3 separate regions of the Homo sapiens genome follow, and all the other regions are linked to region 3. Evidence: promoter capture Hi-C in human tissues and cell types (Jung and others, 2019). All regions are on one chromosome and are shown on one strand. Each heading gives the region's core, a stretch centred on a gene start or on the middle of the fragment in contact. The rest is flanking DNA. Distances are from core to core; before and after follow the strand shown. Region 1 holds the start of NFS1 (NFS1 cysteine desulfurase). Region 2 holds the start of PHF20 (PHD finger protein 20). Region 3 has its middle 36 kb from the start of NORAD.

Evidence for each region. The method cuts DNA at HindIII sites, captures the fragments that hold promoters and counts their contacts. A contact is called where the count stands out against the background at its distance.
Region 1: the fragment with the promoter of NFS1 here is called in contact with a fragment that was not itself captured in region 3 in 3 of the 25 tissues and cell types used here (aorta, dorsolateral prefrontal cortex and mesendoderm cells).
Region 2: a contact is called between the fragment with the promoter of PHF20 here and a fragment that was not itself captured in region 3, in 1 of the 25 tissues and cell types used here (dorsolateral prefrontal cortex).

The regions. Positions count from the first base shown.
Region 1 is chr20:35,697,020-35,701,172 of GRCh38, forward strand. It overlaps NFS1 (NFS1 cysteine desulfurase), which reads right to left and starts at 2,333. Exons shown (of 13, transcript NM_021100.5): 1 at 2,173-2,333; 2 at 1,462-1,571; 3 at 665-781. The coding sequence starts at 2,269. ROMO1 (reactive oxygen species modulator 1) reads left to right here and starts at 2,386. Exons shown (of 3, transcript NM_080748.3): 1 at 2,386-2,437; 2 at 2,614-2,744; 3 at 3,779-3,961. The coding sequence starts at 2,614. The coding sequence ends at 3,887. RefSeq lists enhancers at 1,900-2,559, 2,560-3,219, 2,791-3,010 and a silencer at 2,111-2,300. The HindIII fragment of the contact is 14,345 bases long and covers 1-4,153 here.
Region 2 is chr20:35,769,997-35,774,213 of GRCh38, forward strand. PHF20 (PHD finger protein 20) reads left to right here and starts at 2,019. Exons shown (of 18, transcript NM_016436.5): 1 at 2,019-2,083. RefSeq lists silencers at 2,087-2,466, 3,471-3,765. The HindIII fragment of the contact is 9,618 bases long and covers 977-4,217 here.
Region 3 is chr20:36,085,342-36,088,957 of GRCh38, forward strand. No RefSeq gene overlaps it. Among named protein-coding and RNA genes, the nearest start is that of NORAD, 36 kb to the left of the region's middle. The HindIII fragment of the contact is 7,451 bases long and covers 1-3,616 here.

The DNA of each region.
Region 1 (4,153 bases), core at 1,083-3,582, 390 kb before region 3:
TGCTTGAACCCGGGAGGCAGAGGTTGCAGTGAGCCGAGATCGTGCCACTGCACTGCAGCCTGGGTAACAAGAGCAAAACTCTGTCTCAAATAATAGTAAATAAATAAATAAATAAAAATACAAAAATATTAGCTAGGCATGGTGGCGTGTGCCTGTAATCCCAATTACTTGGGAGGCTGAGGCAGCAGAATCACTTGAACCCGGGAGGCAGAGGTTGCAGTGAGCCAAGATCGTGCGCCACTGCACTCCAGTCTGGGCAACAAATGTGAAAACTCCATCTCATAAAAAAAAAAAAAAAGAACTATTGAGCTCTTACTATTTATAGTACTTCTTACTTACAGATGTTGTGGTAATAAACACTTTATCAGCATTGTCTTATTTAATCCACCCAGTAACCCTACAGAGTAGAAACTACCACAATCTCTGTTTTAAATGAGGAAAATAAGGCTCAAAGAAATTAGATAACTTGCCCAAGTCATTTAGCCAGGAAATATGGGAACCAATCAAATGCCTGCAGTCAAACTCCAAGGCTGCTCTTTGAATCTCTTCCAGAAAGAATCCAAAACCATTTCTACCTCCATGCACACCTACCAAGAAAGAAATGCCTCCCACAGGCCACTGCCCCTCTTTGACCTTAGAACCTCCTAGACTCCTGTGTACTAACCTGACGAGCACGTTCCATGGCTGCCTCACTCTCCCAGCCATAAGCATGTGTCCGGGAGTGTGGGTTCCCATAGTAGTTGATTAGGTAAGGGAGCATGGCATCAAGCACCCGGGGGTCCTGAACACAACAGAACAGATCATTTTCCTTGAGCGCATCGTCAATTCAGGTCCCACTCCACCCCTCAGACCTGGCCACCCTGCCTTAAGACACTCTCAACCCCTCAGGCACTGCCTAGAGGAGGCCTCAAACATTCTTTTGTTCCCACAAAACTACCCACCAAATATCAACCTAATACACTCCCACTCACAACCCATCCCAACTCGGATTGTTCTGCCTCCCCTCAGGTAGTCTACAAACACTGCCTTGTTCCGACATCTGTTTCTGCTGGTGTTTCCATTCCTGCCAGGTAATGTGATCTATAAGGGGCTGGGACAGGACAGGGCCTAGGCAAACACCCCTGGTCACACATTGGTGAAAACTTGCATTAGTCTTTTAACCCGTTTAATACTTGTCCAAGTTCACACAGTTACTAAGTGGCCGTTCTGCTCATTCCAGAGCCCATGCTTTTAACTAATACTATAGAGCCTGCGCTGAAGTGATCTGACCAAGGTCAATTGCTAGTGAGTAGTAAAGCCAATGCCAGTGGCCTCGAATTTAAGCCTCCCGACTCCTCGCTCAGTGCTTTTTCCAGCACACCTTCACGGCTCTCACTTCTCCAGGGATTCAGCCATTTCTTTGCGTGATCACGCCCATCATTTACTTCCTATAAGCAGCCTTGGGAAAAGCTTCATCCTTACCAGAGGAGTTGTAGCTTGCACATCCATATAGAGAGGTCGCAGCACTGGCCCCACCTCCGGGGCAGCGGCTGTATCTGCGGGAACCGCAGACTGAGGAGCACGGTCTCCAACTGATAAAAAATGGAACGGAGTAGCCAAGTAAGACCGAAGGCAACTATGAACGCATGGCATCCAAAGGGCAGAAGGAAAAATCTGGCTGGAGGTGAGATAAGTGTAAGGGATGCTAGGGTCGAATCTCAATGGAAAGAAAACAACACCAGATACCTGACACGCTGTAAAAGGAGGTAAGGGAGAGGGAGAGAGGGTTCCTGGAGGGGGTGTTGAGTTGATATTCAAATGGTATCGTAGGAAGGAAGGCTCTAAAGGGCAAAGACGTTTAGAAGGAACGTGGAGCCAGAGTAGGTGCAGTCCCTTCTGACCGAAGGTAACGGTCTGCACGGGAGCCCGGAGCAGCATCTGTAACTTGGCCAGGAGCGGTCTGAAGGACGCGCCTCCACGGCTCTGGGGGCCTGTCGCGCAGGGTGCGAGGGGTGGTGCGCCGGGGTCAACCGTTCGGGGACCCGCCTAAGAAAGTTTGAGGGATGTGTCATTTGAGAGAAGGGTCAGAGGGTCTGGGCAGCAGGGTGGACAGGAAGGCTCCGGAATATTCAGTTGCGTCGCCGCGCGGAGGGGACAGGTCCGCGCCTCCCGGAGAGCGGGACCCGAGCGTACCGCGCAGGCGCAGCCCCCGAGTGGGCGCCGCGGGCTTCGGCCCTGGAGCCGCTGTCACCGCCACTGCCGCCCGCCTCCAAGCGGCTCGGAGCAGCATGGTCCCGCTGGCAGAGCCCACCTTCCGAAGCCGCTGCAGTCCTGGGCCCCAGGCTCCCGGAAGTGCTGCCCGGCGCTCCGGAAGCGATTCATCGGGCCGCGAGCGCCCTCCCCGTCGTTTTCCGTGAGAGACGTAGAGCTGAGCGACCCAGCCCGCGAGCGAGGTGAGGTAGGCGCCGGGCGACGCGGGGCCGGAACGCGAAGAGGGTGGTGGAGTCGGGCTACCCACTGATTTTCCTTCCCTTACTTCCCCTGAGCCCTTGGGCCCACTTCCCAGCCTACCGCTTCCGTCCCCGCCCGACTCTTGGGCCAGCGCCTGGGCCCACACTTTCCTATCCCCCGCAGATGCCGGTGGCCGTGGGTCCCTACGGACAGTCCCAGCCAAGCTGCTTCGACCGTGTCAAAATGGGCTTCGTGATGGGTTGCGCCGTGGGCATGGCGGCCGGGGCGCTCTTCGGCACCTTTTCCTGTCTCAGGTGAGGGGCGCGGGCGGTGATCTCTGGGCAGGACAACCAGACCTTCCGGCCCTGCCCCATTCGGCCTGGAGCCTGAACACAGCCTCCTTCTTTCGACTTCCCTCTCTGTCCCCTCGCGAGCCAGACTCATTCCAAACCACCTTCAATCTGTAAAGTCAGGTTGGAAGCGTCAGTGCTTAAGAATTTGAGCTTTAGAGTCAAAATGCTTTCTGGCCCTTTTCTTACTGGTTCGGTGACTTTAGGCAAGTTGGAGACTGGGTTTCCTTAAGTGTAGAATGAAGACAGTAGCATCTAACTTATAGAGTTGTAAAAATTCGATCAGCACACTTTGCACAGCATCTGGCACATATTAAGTGCTCAGTAACTAGTTACTACTGTTGCTTTTATTTTTTTTTCCAATTGCGCATAAGGAAAGAAACTCGTTCAGCGGTTTTACTATTCTGGATACAGGATACAGAGATAAAGCAGTTAAACTTTACACTCTAAAGGTCATTTTCACATTTAGAGGCTGTTATTGCCATATCCCTAGATTGTAAATTATCATTTACAGAGCACTTACTCTATGTTAAGCACTGTGCTAAATACTGTAGTTTTCAAAATCCTGTAAATAATGTTGAGATGCCCATTTTACACTTGACACTATGTGTAAATTGTAGAGCTGACTCTTGAACCCCCACCTTACTCCAAAATCATTAACACCAAGAAACTAAAAGACAGATGTCTTTATTGGGTCTTAAACTGCAGGCAACACCAGTCAAAAAAGCTGGTTTCTCTATGTATTTTACACTGCATCTGCTGCCTCCCACAAACTGAAGGCAGTTAATACGACATCCACCAGAAAAATACCCTGGAGACCCAGATGGATCTTTTTCCTTCTCATTACCCACCCCAGGTAGTAAGATATAATATCCAGTAAGTGGAAAATCAGATGTAGGGGTTGCTAGACTAGTGTTAGCAAAAAATTGGAAAGGAGCAGTTAATACTCTTTCTGATATTTTTGTTACCAAATAGCTCCATCTTGGTTTCCTCCTCAGGATCGGAATGCGGGGTCGAGAGCTGATGGGCGGCATTGGGAAAACCATGATGCAGAGTGGCGGCACCTTTGGCACATTCATGGCCATTGGGATGGGCATCCGATGCTAACCATGGTTGCCAACTACATCTGTCCCTTCCCATCAATCCCAGCCCATGTACTAATAAAAGAAAGTCTTTGAGTAGTCAGTGTCCCTCTCTTAAAGGAATATTCTTCTCTCAGCCTATTATCCAGCTTTGCCAAGGATCTTCTGCACTAAAGAGATGGACTAACGTAATGACTAGGGTTAGTATCTCTTTCACAAGGCCTGCCTCTCTTAATCCAAAATTGGAAAACTTGGGAGTGTCTAGTATTTTCCATAGATACTATTCAACTA
Region 2 (4,217 bases), core at 769-3,268, 320 kb before region 3:
AAGTAGCTGGGACTACAGGCATGCACCACCACACCTGGCTAATTTTTGCATTTTTAGTAGAGAGAGGGTTTCACCATGTTGGCCAGGCTGGTCTCGAACTCCTCACCTCAGGTAATCTGCCCGTCTTGGCCTCCCAAAGTGCTGGGATTACATGCGTGAGCCACCGCGCCCAGCCATGTTACAATTTTAATAGAATACATGTACTGCCCAAGCAAGTGTAGCTGAAGCTTTTGTCCCTGGTTCCACAGTGTCTCTACCTAAGGGCTGCTCTTTGCCCTGACTACCTCAACTGAGGCAATACCCTCCTTAGTTTCCAGCCCTGGTTTAAAAAGCACCCCTCAGGCTGGATTTGCTGGCTGAGGCCTGTAATTCCAGCATTTCTGGAGGCTGAGGCAGGAGGATCACTTGAGCCAAGGAGTTTGAGACCAGCCTGGTCAACAAAGTGAGACCCTGTCTCTAAAAAAAAAAAAAAAAAAACTCGGCCGGGCACGGTGGCTCACGCTTGTAATCGCAGTATTTTAGGAGGCCGAGGCGCGCGGATCATGAGGTCAGGAGTTCAAGACCAGCCTGGCCAAGATGGTGAAAACCCGTCTCTACTAAAAAAAATATAAAAAATTAGCTGGGCGTGGCGGCGTGCGCCTGTAATCCCAGCTACTTGGGAGGCTGAGGCAAAGAATTGCTTGAACCCGGGAGGCAGAGGTTGCAGTGAGCCAAGATCGCACCACTGCACTCCCGTCTGGGCTACAGAGCGAGACTCTATCTCAAAAAAAAAAAAAAAAAGTGGCCAAGTACGGTGTTAATTCCAGCACTCTGGGAGGCTGAGGTGGGTGGACTGCTTGAGCCCAGGAATTCAAGACCAGCCTGGGCAACATCGTGAAACTGCGTCTCTACAAAAAAATGCAAAAATTAGCCAGGTGCACACCTGTGGTTCCAGCTATCTGGGAGACTGAGGTGGGAGAATTGCTTGGGCCTAGGAGGTGGAGGTTATGAGGAGCCGAGACTGCGCCACTGCACTCCAGCCTGGGTGACACAGTGAGACCGTGTCTCAAAAAAAAAAAAAAATTAGCTAGGCATGGTGGCATGGGCCTGCAGTCCCAGCTACTCAGAAGGTTGAGCTGGGACCACAGGTGCGCACGTTCACGCCTGGCTAATTGTTGTATTTCTTGGAGAGACGGGGGTCTAGCTATGTTGCCCAGGCTGGTCTCGAACTCCTGAGCTCAAGTGATCTACCCACCTCAGCCTCTCATAGTGTTGGGATTACAGGCGTGAGCCACTGCTCCTGGTCTCATATTCTTTTGGGGTGGCTTCAACTCCGACCTTCGTCCCCAGAGAAAATACAGCTCCTTATCCTTAGCAGCAATTGGAAACCTTTCTAGGAGTTAATGATAAAGTGGGGGAGAAATGAGTGCAAAGGCTCTGAGATGAGAAGAACCTGGATTGTTAGCGGAGTTGAAGGACACTGAGAATGTGGGGGAGCTGGATTCGTGAGGATAAGAAAGCAGCAGGTCAGGTCCAGACTTTGAAGAGCCTGGTAGATAGTCTAGGTGAAGAGTTAGATCTTAATCCGGAGTAGGGAGGGAAACGAGCTTTGAGCAGGGGATGGCGTTTTGAAAAGACCTCTCTGCCGGTGTACGAAGAATGGATTAGAACGGCGAAGAGTAATAGGGTGGAAACCATCTTCATCTTGGAGAGAGATGGTGGTCGCTTCGATGGAGAAATGGGAAGCTTTGAGACGCATTTAGGTGGCAAAATTAACGGGTGATGGATAGCGTCCATTCCCCGGCTTCGGTGATCTCAGTGATTACGAGTGAGTGGGGACTTCGTGTTCCTGCTAGGGCGCGGGCCTGTTTCCCGCGCGTCAGGGTAGTGGGCGTGGCCTGCGCAGGCCGTTGCCACAGTGATCGGGCAGACGGGGCAGGGGGCGGGGCAGCTGGGACCTTACGTCACTCGGTGGTGGCGATGATGCGTGTGTGTGGGGGGCGGGGCATACGCTGGGCGCGTCCCGGGGGTCACGTGGTGCAGAGCACGCAGAGTCCTTCTGTCGGTTGGTCCTGGAGCGGCGCAGCCGGAGTGGGGCCGTGAGGTGAGCTCGCGGCCAGGCGAAGCCGGCCGGCCGGGCCGGGTTGGGCCGGGCCCGCGCTGCGCGCGCGCCGTGCGGGCGGGGACGGCGACGGACGCCACCGCTGCTTCGGTCCCCTGCCCGGCCCCGCTCCCCGCCTGGCCCCGCTCGCCCAGCCTGGAGGGAGGCCCTGGGACTGCTGCTGAGAGCGTGGCGGGCGTGCGAGCGGTGCCCAATCCCCGGGGCTACCCGCAAGAGTGGCGGCGGCTGCCGCCAATCAGCGCCGCCCGAGGGGGCTGGGCCGTGGGGTGCGGGCCCGGGGCGCGGAGCGGGCCGTGTTGGGGGTGCGGGTAAGCCCTAGGGCCCGAGCCTGAGCTGTGTGGGCACCTAGAGCCTCATCAGCAGCCTCTGCTATTGCCTTGCGCTTTGGGAATATGTTTTTTAAAATTGGCTTTTTTTATCCTATTCTGGGGAGCACATTCCTTTCTCAAGACCCCAAATATGGGAGTGTCCCTTTTCTCTATAGTTTTGAAAACTGGGCGGCACACCCCCTTTCTTAAGCTCTAGCTCTGGAATTTTATCTAAATTTCTAAAAGCCCTCCCCCCCCCAAATTTAGGGCGTACCCTCTTCCGTCAGCCCCCAAAGTGGGAGCACATTCCTTTTTTCGGGCCTCCAATTTGATTCTGCATTTCCGTTCCAATTTAGAGGTTCACCCTGTTATCGGGTCCTCAGATCTGGGGTCCATTAGCTAAAGTTTTGGGATACTTTCTTGTATCCCCTCTACTCCAAGGAAGAATTCCCCTTTTCCAGGTCCCAAATCTGACAGCATGCCTTCTGGAATTTCTTACATTTAGGGGCCACTTCCTTTCCTCAGCCCTTCAAACCTGAGGTTGGGCCGAAAACAATGTCCAAATTTTGAAGTTTATGGGTACTTATTTCCAGTTTCACAAATAAGGGAATTCACTGCCTTCTCCCGAGACTGTATTATTGGGGTTACACACTTTTCACGTGTTCCCCAAATCAAACTACCTTATTTCCTGAAGGAGACTCATTTTCATATCTGGGAGTATATTTGTTTCTTGTGCCCCCCAAATGTACGAGGTGAACCCCTTTTAGTTATACAACTCTCAGAGTGCAGCCACTTTCCAGATGCTTCTTAAATTTGGGGGGCACACCTTTTTGTGAGTCCTCTCATTTCCAGGTGGCGAGTGGTCTGTGGTTTTGAGCATGCCTTCCTACCCTGTTTAGCTTTTCTGTCATCCAAGACATTTTCATTCCTCAGTTTCCTTCCCTTTTTGGAGCCACACTCCCCTTGAGGTGCTTTCCCCAGTCTGGTCAGTGCACCCATTTCCTCTTCCTCTGGCGAGTGCGTATCTTTGTTCAGCACGGCACTTTTCTCTGTGCTTCTGCGGGCTTTTCTTCTGAGCACACTTCCCAGAGTCACACCTCCTGAATTCTCCTCTCCTCCCAGGGAAGGATTCCTCTCCTAAAGGGCTACCAGCACATTGTTTTTGATAGGCCTATCTTTTATCTTTCCGCTAGCAGGATCTCTTCTCTCTTGGCTTGCCCAATCCCCAAACATTTTTCTGGTTTCTGTCTTTCTTTGGAATTGTTCTGTTTACCTAGTGGCTATAAAGATTTTCCTTGTGCTGGAGGTGGCCTCAAGTCTAGGACTGCCTGGGCCCCCAGCGCTGGATTCAAAGTGGAAACCATTTCTTTGGTTAATCACAGGACTCTGAATCCTCCTGGTGGTTTACTTCTAGAAGACCTAAGATTCTGTTTAGGTGCATACTGTTTTCTCCTTTGCTTTATCTCCTTGTGCTGGAAAACAAAAACAAACAAAACTCTCAGATTTTTCCAGCACTGCTTCTAGCCCATAAACTTCTTCCCTATATTGGCTTTCTTACTATCTTTTATGAAGAAAAGATGTCGTTTGGAGGAATCCCTTGGATACTCTTTTTGTTCTTGTCCCTGGGGTGTCGGTGGGGAAATGGATATTTTTCTCTCCCAATCATCCTCTTGTCAATCTTCTTTTTTTTTTTTTGAGACAGAGTCTCGCTCTGTCGCCCAGGCTGGAGTGCAGTGGCGCGATCTCGGCTCAGTGCAAGCTCCGCCTCCCGGGTTCACGACATTCTCCTGCCTCAGCCTCCCGAGCAG
Region 3 (3,616 bases), core at 615-3,114:
TGGTTAAGCTTGACAATGGGCTGGGGAAGTGCACTCCTTCCTCTGGAAGGTACACAAGTCACATGGCAACTGGCTAGGATGGATAATTCTCTTACTGGCCAAGGGAAGGGCAAATAATGGAGAAAAATAATACGTCAACCACAGGGGTTGAGTAACTTTCCCAAGATCAAACCACTGGGAAGGGACAGAGGCAGATTCAAACTCAGACAGTCTCCAAAGCCATAGTGAACTCCATGGCTCCCTACTGCCTGTTAGATGGAATCCAAATATATTTAAGCTTTAGGGCATTCCTGCAGCCTGGAGGGCCCTTCTACCTAATTTGTGTGCTGAATTCACTCTTTAAGGCTCCACTCCAATCTCAACTCCTTGGACTCACTCTTATTTGTCATGTGTTCCCTCTGCTCTAAGGCCCTTGTACAGTGTTCCCAAATGTTTGCAGTATTTTGGGATGAAAGGAGTGAGGGGCACAAGCTGCAAGTGGACTGTGCTCCTGAGGATGAGAGCACTTTGCCTACTTTTCCACCCCTCTAAACTAAGCTTAGTATCTTGTGCTTGGGTGACTCTGACAGGTCAGCCCCGCATGACTCACTCTGTAAGCCTTCAGCGCGGGTCACCACAAGGTCCTGGTTTAGGGTGTGTGAGTTGGTGGGTGGGGAGGGGAGGTGGAAATTAACTTTCACCTTTCAGGAACCTTTCCCTTCCCCAGGAGAAGGACAAGTGTAAGTCCTTCCCTTAAGTAGTCTGGGCAAGTCTCTACTCATCACTCCTAGGAGGACTGGGGAGGTCCTGGAAGGTGCAGAGGAGGAAGCTCTGAGAAGTAGAAACAGCACCAAACTGCACCATAGAAGACTTTACTAATTTGTCCAAATGACAGAATTTACCTTCTCTGAGCTTCAGTTTCCCCAGCTATAAAGTGGCAACAACACTGATCTTGCCCTCCTCCCTAAGTTGCTACAAAAAGACATAGTAAAAATCTTTAGGGTGCCGGGCAGGGTGGCTCACGGCTGTAATCTCAGCACTTTGGGAGGCTGAGGCAGGCAGATCACCTGAGGTTAAGAGTTCGAGACCAGCCTGGCCAACATGGTGAAACCCCATCTCTACTAAAAATACAAAAATTAGCCAGGCATGGTGGCAGGCACCTGTAATCCCAGCTACTTGGGAGGCTGAGACATGAGAATCGCTTGAACCCGGGAGATGGAGGTTGCAGTGGGCAAAGATAGTGCTACTGCACTCCAGCCAGGGTGATGGAGCAAGACTCCATTTCAAAAAAAAAAAAAAAAAAAAATCTTTAAGAATGCAGCCTTGAAATCGCACAGACTTGTACTGGAATCCTTCTCATAAGCTATGTGACTGAGAAAGTTATAGATCTTCATAAGCCATTACAGCTACCTCCCAGGGTGAGAAAATTATGTAAATAAATTTCCTAACATATACTAAGTACTCAATAATGTTGGCTATTCCTATATGAGATGATGAAACTTATTATTATATAGGGAAAGTCCCAGACGAGGACCCATTTTTGAACATTGAAAGGAGGGAGTACAGAGGCTAACTTTTCTTAGAATTGGTTGCTTCTTTTAGCCAAGTATAAGGTGTGGCTCAAAGGAATGAGGAAGCAGTTAATGAGGTGACAGGGCACAGAATACTGTTTGTCTTCACAGATCTTGGGGGAGGGATACAGTGGTTAGCTGACCTTCCCAAAAGATCAGAGATCCTGGTGTCTTGTCCACCCACAGATGCAGGCCACTTGACTCTGTCCTGTCCCCTCCTACCAGTCCAGTCACCACGTTCTGGTGAGGCTGCCTTTGAAATAATAATAACAATGGTACTTGTACTAATGATATTATTACTTTGAAGTGTATGAAGGCTTTCTAATACATCATCCCAGTTATCCTTCATTATCTCTCTCCCATTCACAGAATCCAGAGTTAGGAAGGATATTGCAGATCATTCTGCATTTTACAGATGGGATCTCTGAAATTTGAATAAAGGAAGGGATCTACTCAAGGGCTGGGATTTACCTGAGACTACACAATAAGTTAATGGCAGGGGCAGGACTAGAACCTGCAGCTCCTGACTACCAGCCTAGTGCCAGTGCCTCTTTCAAGTCACACTTGCATTGGCTTTCCATTCCCATGGCCTCCCAGTCTATTCTTTTTTTTTGTTTTTTGTTTTGTTTTGTTTTGTTTTGAGACGAGTTTCGCTCTGTCGCCCAGGCTGGAGTGCAGTGGTGTGATCTCGGCTCACTGCAACCTCCGCCTCCCGGGTTCAAGCAATTCTCTGCCTCAGCCTCCCAAGTGGCTGGGATTACAGGCACCCACCACCATGCCTGGCTAATTTTTTTGTATTTTTAGTAGAGACAGGGTTTCACCATGTTTGCCAGGCTGGTCTTGAACTCCTGACCTTGTGATCCACCCTCCTCGGCCTCCCAAAGTGCTGGGATTACAGGCATGAATCACCGTGCCCAGCCCCAGTCTATTCTTTTATCTCCTGGACCACTGCAGTGGTTTCCTACTGGTCCTGCCTGCCTCTGATCCCTCCCCACCCATTTCTTCTACACATACAGTCACATAATTGTCTGGAAGCACAGCTTTGATCTTGTCTTTCCCTTCCTAATAGAACTTGCCCATTTTTTCAACTTGAGAGGTCACCAGGATCCTAGTTCAATTTCCCAATGAAGACTTAATCTTTCCTTGAATACATATATTGACAAGGAGTTCATCACTCCCAAGGTGGTCCATTCCATTCTTGGGTAGCTCCAACTGTTAGGGAGTTCTTTATAGTGAGCTGAAATTGTCTTCCTGGATATCCCCCCACTGGAGGTGATGTGATGGAATTCTCTTTTTTTTTTTTTTTTTTTTGAGACCGAGTCTCACTGTGTTGCCCAGGCTAGAGTGCAGTGGTACAATCTCAGCTCACTGCAACCTCCGCCTCCCAGGTTCAGCAATTCTCATGTCTCAGCCTCCCGAGTAGCTGGGACTTACAGGCATGAGCCACCAAGCCTGGCTAATTTTTTTGTGTTGTTAGTAGAGACAGGGTTTCACCATGCTGGCCAGGTTGGTCTCAAACTCCTGGCCTCAGGTGATCTGCCTGCCTCGGCCTCCCAAAGTGCTGGGATTACAGGTGTGAGCCATCACACTTGGCCCCTTTTTGTTTTTTTTTTTTTTTAGACAGAGTTTCACTCTTGCTGCCTAGGCTGGAGCGCAGTGGTGTGATCTTGGCTCACTGCAACCTCCACCTCCCAGATTCAAGACATTCAGCCTCCCAAATAGTTGGGATTACAGGCATGTGCCACCACGCCCAGCTAATTTTGTATTTTAGTAGAGACGGGGTTTCACCATGTTGGCGAGGCTGGTCTCGAACTCCTGACCTCAGGTGATCCACCTGCTCGACCTTCCAAAGTGTTGGGATTACAGGCGTGAGCCACAGCACCTGGCCAATGGAATTCTTTCGTATCCATTCTGGCAGCAAATCTGTAGTCATTGTTTCATAGGAACCAGGTCCTGGATGGACTAGGTGCTGAGGAGAACAGCATATAAATTTGATATGGATCCTTCCCTCAGAGAGGGTGGCCTAGGAGTTTGCTAATGCAGAATTTTTTGTTTTGTTGATTAGA